Regions from separate parts of the Homo sapiens genome. Here regions 1 and 2 are each linked to region 3. Evidence: promoter capture Hi-C in 16 types of primary human blood cells and fetal thymus (Javierre and others, 2016). All regions are on one chromosome and are shown on one strand. Each heading gives the region's core, a stretch centred on a gene start or on the middle of the fragment in contact. The rest is flanking DNA. Distances are from core to core; before and after follow the strand shown.

Region 1 (3,881 bases), core at 293-2,792, 950 kb before region 3:
AAAGTATCTTCAGATAAAGAGGACCCTGTCTATCTTGAGTTTGGAACATCAGAGCTTTTTGTGGTGGTTGTAACTAAATGGGGTGTAGGTGCTATTGCTAGGATAAATCAGAACATGGCAGTTATTTTATGAAAATAATCTTGTATTTATTAAAGGACTTGCAAAAAAGTTAACCTGAGGATTTGTGTAATGTGTCTCTAAGAGAGAGCTGTCATTACGTTGGTGAAGTGACCAATCCTTTCCCTGTTTGGCACCTCATACCAGCCACAGGGTAGTAAGAATCTCAAGTGCAGCTGAACTCCTGCTTTCAGAGGAAATACCGGGAGACAGTATGAAAAGAAAGGTGGGCTTTACGCCCCTTCCAGTGGCTTCTACAACAAAAGACTTCCTGATTTGGTGACATTTTTCCATGACACGTCATATTGATTTGTCTTGTTCTCCTCTCTGCCCCACACCATTTTATTATAAACAAATCTGAGGCTGGGCGAGGTGGCTCACGCCTGTAATCCCAGTACTTTGGGAGCCGAGGCGGGCAGATTACGAGGTCAGGAGTTCAAGACCAGCCTGACCAACATGGTGAAACCCCGTCTCTACTAAAAATACAAAAATTAGCTGGGCCTGGTGGCGCGTGCCTGTAATCCCAGCTACTCAGGAGGCTGAGGTAGGAGAATCGCTTGAACCTGGAAGGTGGAGGTTGCAGTGAGCTGAGATCGCACCATTGCACTCCAGCCTGGGCGACAGAGTGAGACTCCATCTCAAAAAAAAAAAAAAAAAAAAAAAATTGAAGATAAGCCGGGTGCGGTGGCTCATGCCTGCAATCTCAGCACTTTGGGAGGCCAAGATGGGTGAATCACTTCAAGTCAGGAGTTTGAGACCAGCCTGGCCAACATGGTGAAACCCCATCTCTACTAAAAATACAAAAATTAGCTGGGCGTGGTGGCGCATGCCTGTAATCCCAGCTACTAGAGGGGCTGAGGCACAAAAATCGCTTGAACCCGGGAGGTGGAGGTTCCAGCGAGTCTAGATTGTGCCACTGCACTCCAGCCTGGGCAACAGAGCGAGACTCTGTCTCAAAAAAAAAAAAGAAAATTGAACAGAGATTATAACACTTTTACCATATCTATCCATTTATCATTCCTAATTTCATCTATTACTCTTACTCTTTGGTGTATTTCAAAGGAAATTCCAGACCCTAATAGTTTAAAAAGCTTTTTGTTATTTCAATCCTACAGAAGAGTTACGAGAATAAAGATGGCACAAAGTACAACTGTATGCCCTTGACCCCAATTCACCTGGAGCTCACGTTTACTTCATTCGTGTCATCATCTGCATGTGCTCCCTCTCTAGATCTGTATGGATATAAGCACATTTTTCCTTGGACTTTGTGAGGGTGAGTTACATACATCATGACCTTTTATTTTTAAACTTTTCAGGATATATTTCTTTTTAAAAAATTATATTCAAATTTTATTGCATTAAGATGATGCATTGGTTAGGACTTGAAAAACTTTGTTTTGGCCAGGCGCGGTGGCTCACGTTTGTAATCCCAGCACTTTGGGAGGCCAAGGTGGGGAGATCACGAGGTCAGGAGTTCGAGACCAGATTGGCCAACATAGTGAAACCCCGTCTCTACTAAAAATACAAAAACTTGCCGAGTGTGGTGGCACGTGCCTGTAGTCCCAGCTACTTGGGAGGGTGAGGTAGGAGAATTGTTTGAATGCGGGAGGCGGAGGTTGCAGTGAGCCGAGACTGAGCCATTGCACTCCAGCCTGGGCAACAGACTGATACTCTGTCTCAAACAAAAACAAAAACAAAAAAAACCCTGTTTTATAGAGATACATCTCTTTTTGTTATTTTTCAGCTTTATTAAAGCTTAACAGACATATAAAGATTATATATATTTATGCTATATGATGTGATGTTTTGGTATATGTATGATTAAATCAAGCTAACTAGCATATTCATCACCTCACATACTTTTCATTGTTTTGTGGTGAGAACATTTGCAGTCTACTCTCTTAGCAATTTCTTTTCTTTTTTTCTTTTTTTTTTTTTTTTTGAGACAGAGTCTTGCTCTGTCACCCAGGCTGGAGTGCAGTGGCACAATCTTGGCTCACTGCAGCCTCTGCCCCTCGGGTTCCAGCGATTCTCCTGCCTCAGCCTCCTGAGTAGCTGGGATTACAGGCGCCCGCCAACATGCCTGGCTGATTTTTGTATTATAAGTAGAGACGGGGTTTCGCCATGTTGGCCAGGCTGGTCTTGAACTCCTGACCTCACATGATCTGCCTGCCTCAGCCTCCCAAAGCGCTGGGATTACAGGTGTGAGCCACTGCACCCGGCCAGCAATTTTCTTTTTTTGTTGTTTTTGAGATGGAGTCTCGCTCTATTGCATACACTGGAGTGCAGTGGTGCGATCTTGACTCACTGCAACCTTCACCTCCTGGGTTCAAGTGATTCTCCTGCCTCAGCCTCCTGAGTAGCTAGGACTACAGGTGTGCACCACCACACCCGGCTAATTTTTGTATTTTTAGTAGAGATGGGGTTTCACCGTGTTGCCCAGGCTGGCCTCGAACTCCTGACCTCAAGCGATCTGCCGACCTTGGCCTCCCAAAGTGCTGGGATTACAGGTGTGAGCCACGACGCCTGGCCTCTCTTAGCACTTTTCAAGTGTACAATACACTATTACATATAGTCACCATGCTATATGTACATTAGTTCTCCAGAAACTCCGTTCCTTTCATCATCATCTCCCCATTTCCTACCCCCATTCCCCAGCCCTCCCCTGATAACCGCCATTCTACTCTGTCTTTCTATAAGTTTGAGGTTTTAGATTCCACATGTGAGATCATTAAGTATTTGTTTCTCTGTGCCTAGTTTATTTTACATAGTATGATGTCCTCCGTGTTTATCCAAGTTGTCACAGTGACAGAATTTCCTTTTTTTTTTTTTTTTTTTTGAGGCTGGGTCTTACTCCCTCACCCAGGCTGGAGTGCAGTGGCGCTGTCTTTCCTCAGCTTCCCCGGGTTCAAGTGATTCTTCCATCCCAGCCACCCAAGTAGCTGGGACTACAGGTGTGTGCTACCACACCCAGGTAATTTTTGTATTTTTTGTAGAGACAGGGTTTCTCCATGTTGCCCAGGCTGGTCTCAAACTCCTGAGTTCAGGTGATCCACCTGCCTCAGCCTCCCATAGTGCTGGAATTACAAGCATCAGCCACTGCGCCTATTGGATTTCCTTCTTTTTAAGGGCTGACTTGCATTCCTTTTTAAAAAAGAGATGGAATCTTACTGTATTACCCAGGCTGGAACTCTTGGCCTCAAGCAATCCTTTGACTCTCCCTTCCAAGTAGCTGGGACTACAGGCACGAGCCACCTCGCCTGCCTTCCTTCACATTTACACACAACACATTTTCTTTATCCATAAATCCGCTTAGGTTTTTTCAATATCTTAGCTACTGTGAATAACGCTGCAATGAACATAGGAGTGCAGATAGATCTTCAACATACTGATTTCATTTCCTTCGGGTATATACCTAGAAGTGGAATTGCTGGATCACGTGGGTAGTTCTATTTTTAATTTCTTGAGGAACTTCCATACTGTTTTCTATAATGGCTGTACTAATTTACATTCCTACCAACAGCAGGACCTATTTTTCGAGAACTGGGATATTCTCTTATGTAACCGTGATAAAGTCTCACCTTCAGTACATTAAACATTGATACATACTTTTAATGTAATCTTGCATTTTATTCAATTCTTAATTTAAAAAAATGATTATATTGTCTGGGCACGGTGGCTCACACCTGTAATCCCAGCACTTTGGGAGGCCGAGGCAGGTAGATCACGAGGTCAGGAGATCGAGACCATCCTGGCTAACAGGG
Region 2 (3,788 bases), core at 1,145-3,644, 900 kb before region 3:
CCAACAAGAACAAAGAAAAGGAAAACACTTGTAATCCTATTGCATGGGGACAAGAGACAATCACGACTGACATTTGCCAGGTTTTCTCCTAGTTGTGTTTCAGAGCATCTGTTTCCAGGTTAGTGTGTTCTGAATACAGGCTCTGTGTCCTACGCTCTGAATATGAGCCCCGCGTCCTAGCCTCTGGGTATAAGCCTTGTGTCCTAGGTTCTGGGTATAAGCCCCGGGTCCTAGGTTCTGCATATAAACCTTGTGTCCTAGGCTCTGGGTATAAGCCTTGCTTCCTAGGCCCTGGGTATAAGCCTAGGGTCCTAGACTCTGGGTATAAGCCCCGGGTTCTAGGCTCTGGGTGTAAGCCCCGCCTCCTAGGCTCTAGGTGTAAGGCCTGGGTCCTAGGCTCTGGGTAGAAGCCCCGGGTCCTAGGCTCTGGATACAAGCCTTGTGTCCTAGGCTCTGGGTATAAACCTTCTGTCCTAGGTTCTGGGTATAAGCCTTGTGTCCTATTCTCTGGTTCTCAGCCCCTTGTCCTAGGCTCTGGGTATAAATCTTGTGTCCTAGACCTTGGGTTAAACCCCATGTCCTAGGCTCCGGGTATAAGCCCTGTGTCCTTTCTGCATATAAGCCTTGTGTTTCCTAGGCTCTGGGTATAAGCCCCATGTCCTAGGCTTTGAGTATAAGCCCCATGTCCTAGGCTCTGGGTATAAACCTTGTGTCCTAGGCTCTGAGTATAAGCCCCACGTCCTTTCTGGGTATAAGCCTTGTGTCCTAGGCTCTGGGTATAAGCCCCATGTCCTAATCCCTGGGTATAAGCCCCGGGTTCTAGGCCCTGAATATAAGTTCTGTGTCCTTTCTGGTTATAAGCCTTGTGTCCTAGTCTCTGGGTATAAGCCCCATGTCCTAGGCCCTGGTTATAAGCCCCGAGTTCCAGGCCCTGGGTGTAAGTTCTGTGTTCTTTCTAGGTATTAGCCTTGTGTCCTAGGCCCTGGGCATAAACCTGTGTCCTAGGCCCTGGGTATATGCCCCAGGTTTTAGGCCGTGGGTATAAGCCCCAAGTCCTAGGCTCTGGATAGAAGCCCTGGGTTCTTGGTCCTGGGTATGAGCCCCATATCCTAGGTCACCAACCAGATTGAGAGCCCAGTCAAAGTTCTTTCTCATGGTGTGTCTAGGACGTCAGAAAACCTAGAGATGTGGCCGGACTCTGAGCCCCCTGAAAAGGGTTCCCAGACCTTTTGTGAGAGGGAGGCTTTGTCTGCCCAGAGCCCACCTAGTCTTGGAGTCTTGGAAGGCTGCCCGGCACCTCAGGTAGGCCTGTTTGCACCTCAGCCTCACCCTGGTCTGGGTATCCACTCCATACAGACATGTTTTTAAAAATTGAGGAATAGCTTTGTGCAGTGGCAGTATCATAGCCAATGAGGTTTATCCGAGGCGTGATTATTGCTAATTGAAAAATTGAGGAATAGTTTAGTAAAACACACAGATCTTAAATATATAATTCAATGGCTTTTTACAAATATCTATCTGTAGCCAACACCCCAATCAAGGCAGAAAACATTGCCACCATTGTAGAAAATTCCCCCCAATCCCTTTACAGTCTACTCAACTTCCCTTGTCCCCTAATCCCCAAGCAGCCACTATTCTGATTTGCATTCCAGAAAAGTAGTTTTTCTGGATTTTTTTTTAACTGACTTTCGCTCTTGTCGCCCAGGCTCGAGTGCAGTGGCGCAATCCTGACTCACTGCAACTTCCACCTCCTAGGTTCAATCAATTCTCCTGCCTCAGCCTCCCAAGTAGCTGGGATTAGAGGCGTGCACCACCACGCCTGACTAATTTTTGTATTTTTAGTAGAGACGGGGTTTCACCATGTTGACCAGGCTGGTCTTGAACTTCTGACCTCGGGTAATCCGCCCACCTCTGCCTCCCAAAGTGCTGGGATTACAGGTGTGAGCCACCGTGCCCAGCCTGGTTTTGAATTTAATAAATCTGTATGACATCCTTTGTATGGCTCCTTCAGTTCAAAACACTGTGTTTTTGTTGTTGTTGTTGTAGAGATGGAGTCTTGATCCATTGCCCAGCCTGCTTTCAAACTCCTGGGCTCAAGCAATCCTCTGCTCTTGGCCTCCCAAGTGTTGGGACTGCAGGTGTGAGTCATCGCACCAGCCAGAGTCCAATCGTGTCTCTAGTGAGAGCAGCCACTTTAATATAAAGGCTCAGGAATTCCTCCTCATGTTTGCTGCAGTGGCACTTGCCCTCTGAGTATCAGTTAGCTATTGTCACACTTATGCTGTGTAACAAACCATCCCCACATCTCAGTGGCAAACAGTAATAATCATTTATTTCTTACTCATGAGTTTGTGGGTTGGCTGGGCAGCTCTGCTCCACATGCCTCTCATCCTCTTCCTGGGACCAGCAGGGGCAGTTTCGTCTCTGGCTGATGGCAGGGCCCTGAGAGACGGCACATCTAACCCCACAAACACATTTCCAGTTTTGCTGTGTCATGCCTGCTGGCATCCCTTTGGCCAAGCCCAAAGTCAAGGGGTGGGAAAGGGAGGCTATGGCGAGGGTGTGAGTGTGGGTGAAAAACTGGGGCGGGTCATTCAATCTATGTTACCAGTTTCCTGACAATGTAAGTTAAGAGAAAGAGCTTTGTGGCTGACGCCTGTAATTCCAGCACTTTGGGAGGCCGAGGTGGGCAGATCACAAGGTCAGGAGATGGAGACCATCCTGGCTAACACGGTGAAGCCCTGTCTCTACTAAAAATACAAAAAATTAGCCAGGCGTGGTGGCGGGCACCTGTAGACCCAGCTACTCGGGAGGCTGAGGCAGGAGAATGGCGTGAACCCGGGAGGCGGAGCTTGCAGTGAGCTGAGATCATGCCACTACACTCCAGCCTGGGCGACAGAGCGAGATTCTGTCTCAAAAAAAAAAAAAAAAGGTAAAACTGGTTTGGTTTGCTAGTCCAATTATTTAGTGAATCAGTCCAGTTTATTAGAAATCCCAATGAGGTTGTTTTCAGAAGTGAGACAGGTCTGACCGGATCATTTGCAGAAAGCTCTGTTCTTGCTTTGGGACAGTCCTGCCCGCACTGGGAATGTGAATTTAATCGCCGTTCTCTCGCCGCTGCTCCTGCCCGCCTGGGACCAATTCCCTACCACACTGAGCTCATTGGAGACTTTAGTTTCATATTTTTAAGACCAGTTTAGTGCATCATCTCTGTCTTTATTTCTCCCTCCAGCACTTACTGTAGTTGATCTCTTTTATTTTCTTAGATTCTTTGGGGGGAGTTTATAGGTGGGATGAACCCATATATGCATGAAAATGTCTTTATTTTGCACCCCCAATTTAAGGCTAGATTGGCTGGGTCTTGGATCCTAGATTACGAATAGTTTTTTCTTTGGAATGTTAGAGAAATTGCTCTACTATCTTTTAGGATTCGGGATTGATGATAAGTCTTGATGTCAAGCTGACTTTCATTCTATTGTGACAACCTATTCTCTCGGTCAGAAAACTATGAGGATTTTCCTTTTTTCCTTGGTATTCCAAAATTTTGCTGCAATGTGCCTAGATTTCTAAAATTCCACTTTACTTTTTTTTTTTTTTTGAGATGGAGTCTTGCTTTGTCATCCAAGCTAGAGTGCAGTGGGGTGATCTCAGATCACTGCAACCTCCGCCTCCTGGCTTCAAGTGATTCTCCTGCCTCAGCCTCCCAAGTAGCTGGGATTACAGGTGCGCCACCATGCCAGGCTAATTCTTGTATTTTTAGTAGATAAGGGGTTTTGCCATGTTGGCCA
Region 3 (3,396 bases), core at 679-3,178:
TATTCTGTGAGCTCCCTCCCTTTCAAGCCATGGCTTTGCAGAGGCTGTTCCCCTTAACCAAGGGCCACAGGTGCTGTGGAGCAGCCCTCTTCTATAGCTCCAAGTTCCCCAGGGTTCCCAGTTAGGGATGGTAATGGCCTCCCACTGTCAATACCCGCAGAGTGCTGCTTCGGCCTCCCCTGCTGGCCCCTCTGATCTCCACTTTGTGAAGTGGCTCTACATTCAGGCTGTCTTGAGTCACCCTCTCTGAGGATGCCATCTATTCTTCCAGGACCCTAATGGACACAAGTAAGTCATTTTCTTTTTCGCCTTTTAGAATGAGTTGCAGACAGTATTTCCATCTTAATTCAGCCGCCCCAATTCCCTGATTAATCTTGTGGGCCACCTTAAATTGGGCAGTCTGGGAAGATCTTTTAGAAGCAGTGAGGTTGAGGACCTTGACCTGGAGGATGAGGAGGGGCTTGCCGTTTAACGATCTGAGAGCAGGAATGCAGGTAGTGAGGTGGTAGGCAAGGGCAGAGGCCCAGGGGCCAGTGAGCTTGGCTTTTTCAATACACAGAAGCTTCAGGAACATGGCAAACAATACATGCAGTAACATTAACATAGGTAGGTGGTGTGCAGTTTATGTGCCTGTAAGAAATGTAGTGCTGACTTGTAAGAGGGTGTTGGCCTCTTTTCAGAATGAGGCCAACTTTTCATTCTATTGGGCATACACCAGACTTTAGCACAGAGCCAAGTCTATCAACCATAACCCCCGGCCATCTCAGGGGTTCCCCTCTGAATTAAGGGAAGGAGATGGAACATGTTAGCCAGAGGCACTCAACAGTTCTAAAAGGTGAGTATCCACAGAAATGAGACAACCAGAAGATATCCAGAGTGAGAGGGAAGATGGATATAACGTTATTTTTCTTAAAAAAAAATGGTTGGGGGGTTACTCAAATCACAAAGATCTGAACTGCTGGTTTGTTGTTTCATTTAGGTATTACAGGAGTTAGCGAAAGAGTTACTTGGGACCCATTTAGGACATGAATATGCCTGGTAGGAATCTGAACCCAGCCTGACTTCCAGCAGTTCTTCCCTTTCCTGCCAAGACTTGTTAGTGCCACTCATTCTGTTCTCTGGACCCAGGCTGTACGCCACAGCCTTCTTGCCTCAGCCCTGTGATTTAAATTTGCAGCAGAATCGCAGTACAGGTTAAGTGTGGTGCATACTAGATCATAATTTTTGGCCAAGTTGTGCGTCTAATACAGAATTAAGTCATCAGTTGAACAAGACTTGAAGTTCATTTTCTGAATCTTTCCCATTCGTTATAGTCTCAGTTTTCTCAAAAGCCCTCTCCAGGCCAGAAACAGTCTTACCATTTTTGTTTCCCGCACCGAAGTCCGGCAGCTAAGAACTCGTGAGAAGATTCTAAGGGGCGTATTTCTGTTTGGCGCAATCTCGACCCTGCCTCTCTAAATGTGAGTGCGCAGAGGTCGCTTTCCGCCACGAAGCGGCGCTAATCCACCACCGAGGACAGACCCACTCAGTTTTTTGCAGGATTTGAAGTTTTGAACTTTTACAAGTGTCAGAAAGGTAATTCACAAGTTTAGAGGAATGTGCTAAGGCACGAGTGGTGGGTGCTCCAGCCAGGGGTGGGCTGCAGAAGGGGCGCGGTGTCGCCGGGCTCCCCTCCGACCTCTGGGGTCCACAGTGCGGGCTTGGGCTGGGGAAGCCTCAGAGGTGCGTGCGGGGGCGGGTGCCGGCGCCCGGGCTAGGTGAGGGCAGAGGTGCGCGCTGCGCGTGGGATCAGCCCGGCGCCGACGGGTGGCTCCGAGGAGCTCGCTCCTTCCTCGCCCCCGCCCCCTCGCCGCGCGGGGCCAGCCCGGCCGCTCCTCCCCTGGGTGGGTCCCTGCTCCTTTTCTGGCAGGGTCTATTTGCATAGAGGAAACTGCCCAAAGTGGCCGCTGTGGAGGAGCTGGCTGCGGCGAAGGGGGCGTGCGCGGCGATCCGCTGCTACCCGGAGGCTAACCCCCGCGCCCGGCGGACCTCGTGCCTCGGGCTGTCCCGCCTGCTCCTCTCGCACCCAGCCTCTGCCCCAGCAGCACCGCCCCCTCGGAGAGTCCACGCGCGACGAACGCGCCATGGGCCCAGGCGAGCGCGCCGGTGGCGGCGGCGACGCGGGGAAGGGCAATGCGGCGGGCGGCGGCGGCGGAGGGCGCTCGGCGACGACGGCCGGGTCCCGGGCGGTGAGCGCGCTGTGCCTGCTGCTCTCCGTGGGCTCGGCGGCTGCCTGCCTGCTGCTGGGTGTCCAGGCGGCCGCGCTGCAGGGCCGGGTGGCGGCGCTCGAGGAGGAGCGGGAGCTGCTGCGGCGCGCGGGGCCGCCAGGCGCCCTGGACGCCTGGGCCGAGCCGCACCTGGAGCGCCTGCTGCGGGAGGTGAGCGTCTTGGCGCGTGGCTGGGGCGGACTTGGGTGTGTCGGGTTGAGGGTGGCGGTACGCTGGGAGCCGGGGGCAGCGTGCAGGTCTCTGGGAGGAGGGTCGCCCGCCGGCTGCGTGCGCTCGGGGCCGTCCCAGAGATGGGCACGTCTGCGCCAAGGCGGAGGCAGGGGGTGCCGGCCCCAAGGGGTTTTGCGGTCTCCGCTCCGGCCTCAGGGTCCCGTGCCAGGCAGGCGGCCGCGAGAAAGGGGAAGGAGAGACCAGGGACTTTGGAGTAACAGACCTAGGGTCAGTCTCCACGGGGTGTGCGCTCGGACACGCCGCTTCCCGCCGGCGGCCAGAGTCGGGGATAAAGATGAGGCTCGTGGGAAGTATCTGGTGACTGTGACCAGTAGCACCTACTGTTCCTAACCAACGCTGGTACACCTGGAGAGGCGGTGGTCACGGCGGAGGAAAGCCTCAGACAGGCCCGAGGGCTGGGCCCCGCTGTGCTCCAGTGTGTCTCCAGCAGCTCAGGCCCCAAGACTGAGCGGTCACCGTCGCACTGAGGCCTCGGGGATGGGGGTGGGGGCGCCCACATGACTTGGTAAGATGAGAGGAAGGAGAAACAATCGGGGGTGGAGGACCTGGATTCTGGTTTCAGGCGGTGCCATCTGGGGTGTGGGCTCGCAGGACATCCGGAGTTTCCCGTCCCTTACCTGGGAATCGCGACTTCCACAGCTTACTTGAAAGCTCATATGAGGCTCTGTGACACTTCTAAGGGTTAAGATTGCTGCTGTGTGTCTTCAAAGAAAGAGCCACCTTTGGGTCCTCCAAGCCCTCACCCAGCATGTTGGTCAAAGCCTCCGCCTTTTGTGTGCGGCATGTGCGGCAGTTCCCCTCCCCACGAAACTGGACAGGCCCTGGTGGGCTGGCCAGAGCCTCCCCTGCCGAGCCTTCCTCCTTCTCCTGGGATAGATGGCTGCTCCAGACCCCAAGG

The links. The method cuts DNA at HindIII sites, captures the fragments that hold promoters and counts their contacts. A CHiCAGO score of 5 or more calls a contact.
Region 1: a fragment that was not itself captured here is called in contact with the fragment with the promoter of COL23A1 in region 3 in 1 of 17 cell types (endothelial precursors); the score reaches 7.1 in endothelial precursors.
Region 2: a fragment that was not itself captured here is called in contact with the fragment with the promoter of COL23A1 in region 3 in 6 of 17 cell types (megakaryocytes, endothelial precursors, M2 macrophages and 3 more); the score reaches 14.8 in megakaryocytes.

What each region holds. Positions count from the first base shown.
Region 1 is chr5:179,538,184-179,542,064 of GRCh38, reverse strand. All of the region lies in intron 4 of LOC128966623 (a long non-coding RNA gene), which reads right to left. LOC105377762 (a long non-coding RNA gene) reads left to right here. Exons shown (of 4, transcript XR_941315.4): 2 at 1,233-1,390. Among named protein-coding and RNA genes, the nearest start is that of RUFY1, 10 kb to the left of the region's middle. The HindIII fragment of the contact is 664 bases long and covers 1,211-1,874 here.
Region 2 is chr5:179,489,750-179,493,537 of GRCh38, reverse strand. It overlaps LOC124901224 (U4 spliceosomal RNA), which reads left to right and starts at 1,381; the gene lies at 1,381-1,523. The HindIII fragment of the contact is 5,384 bases long and covers 1-3,788 here.
Region 3 is chr5:178,588,925-178,592,320 of GRCh38, reverse strand. COL23A1 (collagen type XXIII alpha 1 chain) reads left to right here and starts at 1,928. Exons shown (of 29, transcript NM_173465.4): 1 at 1,928-2,417. The coding sequence starts at 2,124. RefSeq lists a silencer at 1,727-1,926 and an enhancer at 2,582-3,396. The HindIII fragment of the contact is 4,652 bases long and covers 565-3,396 here.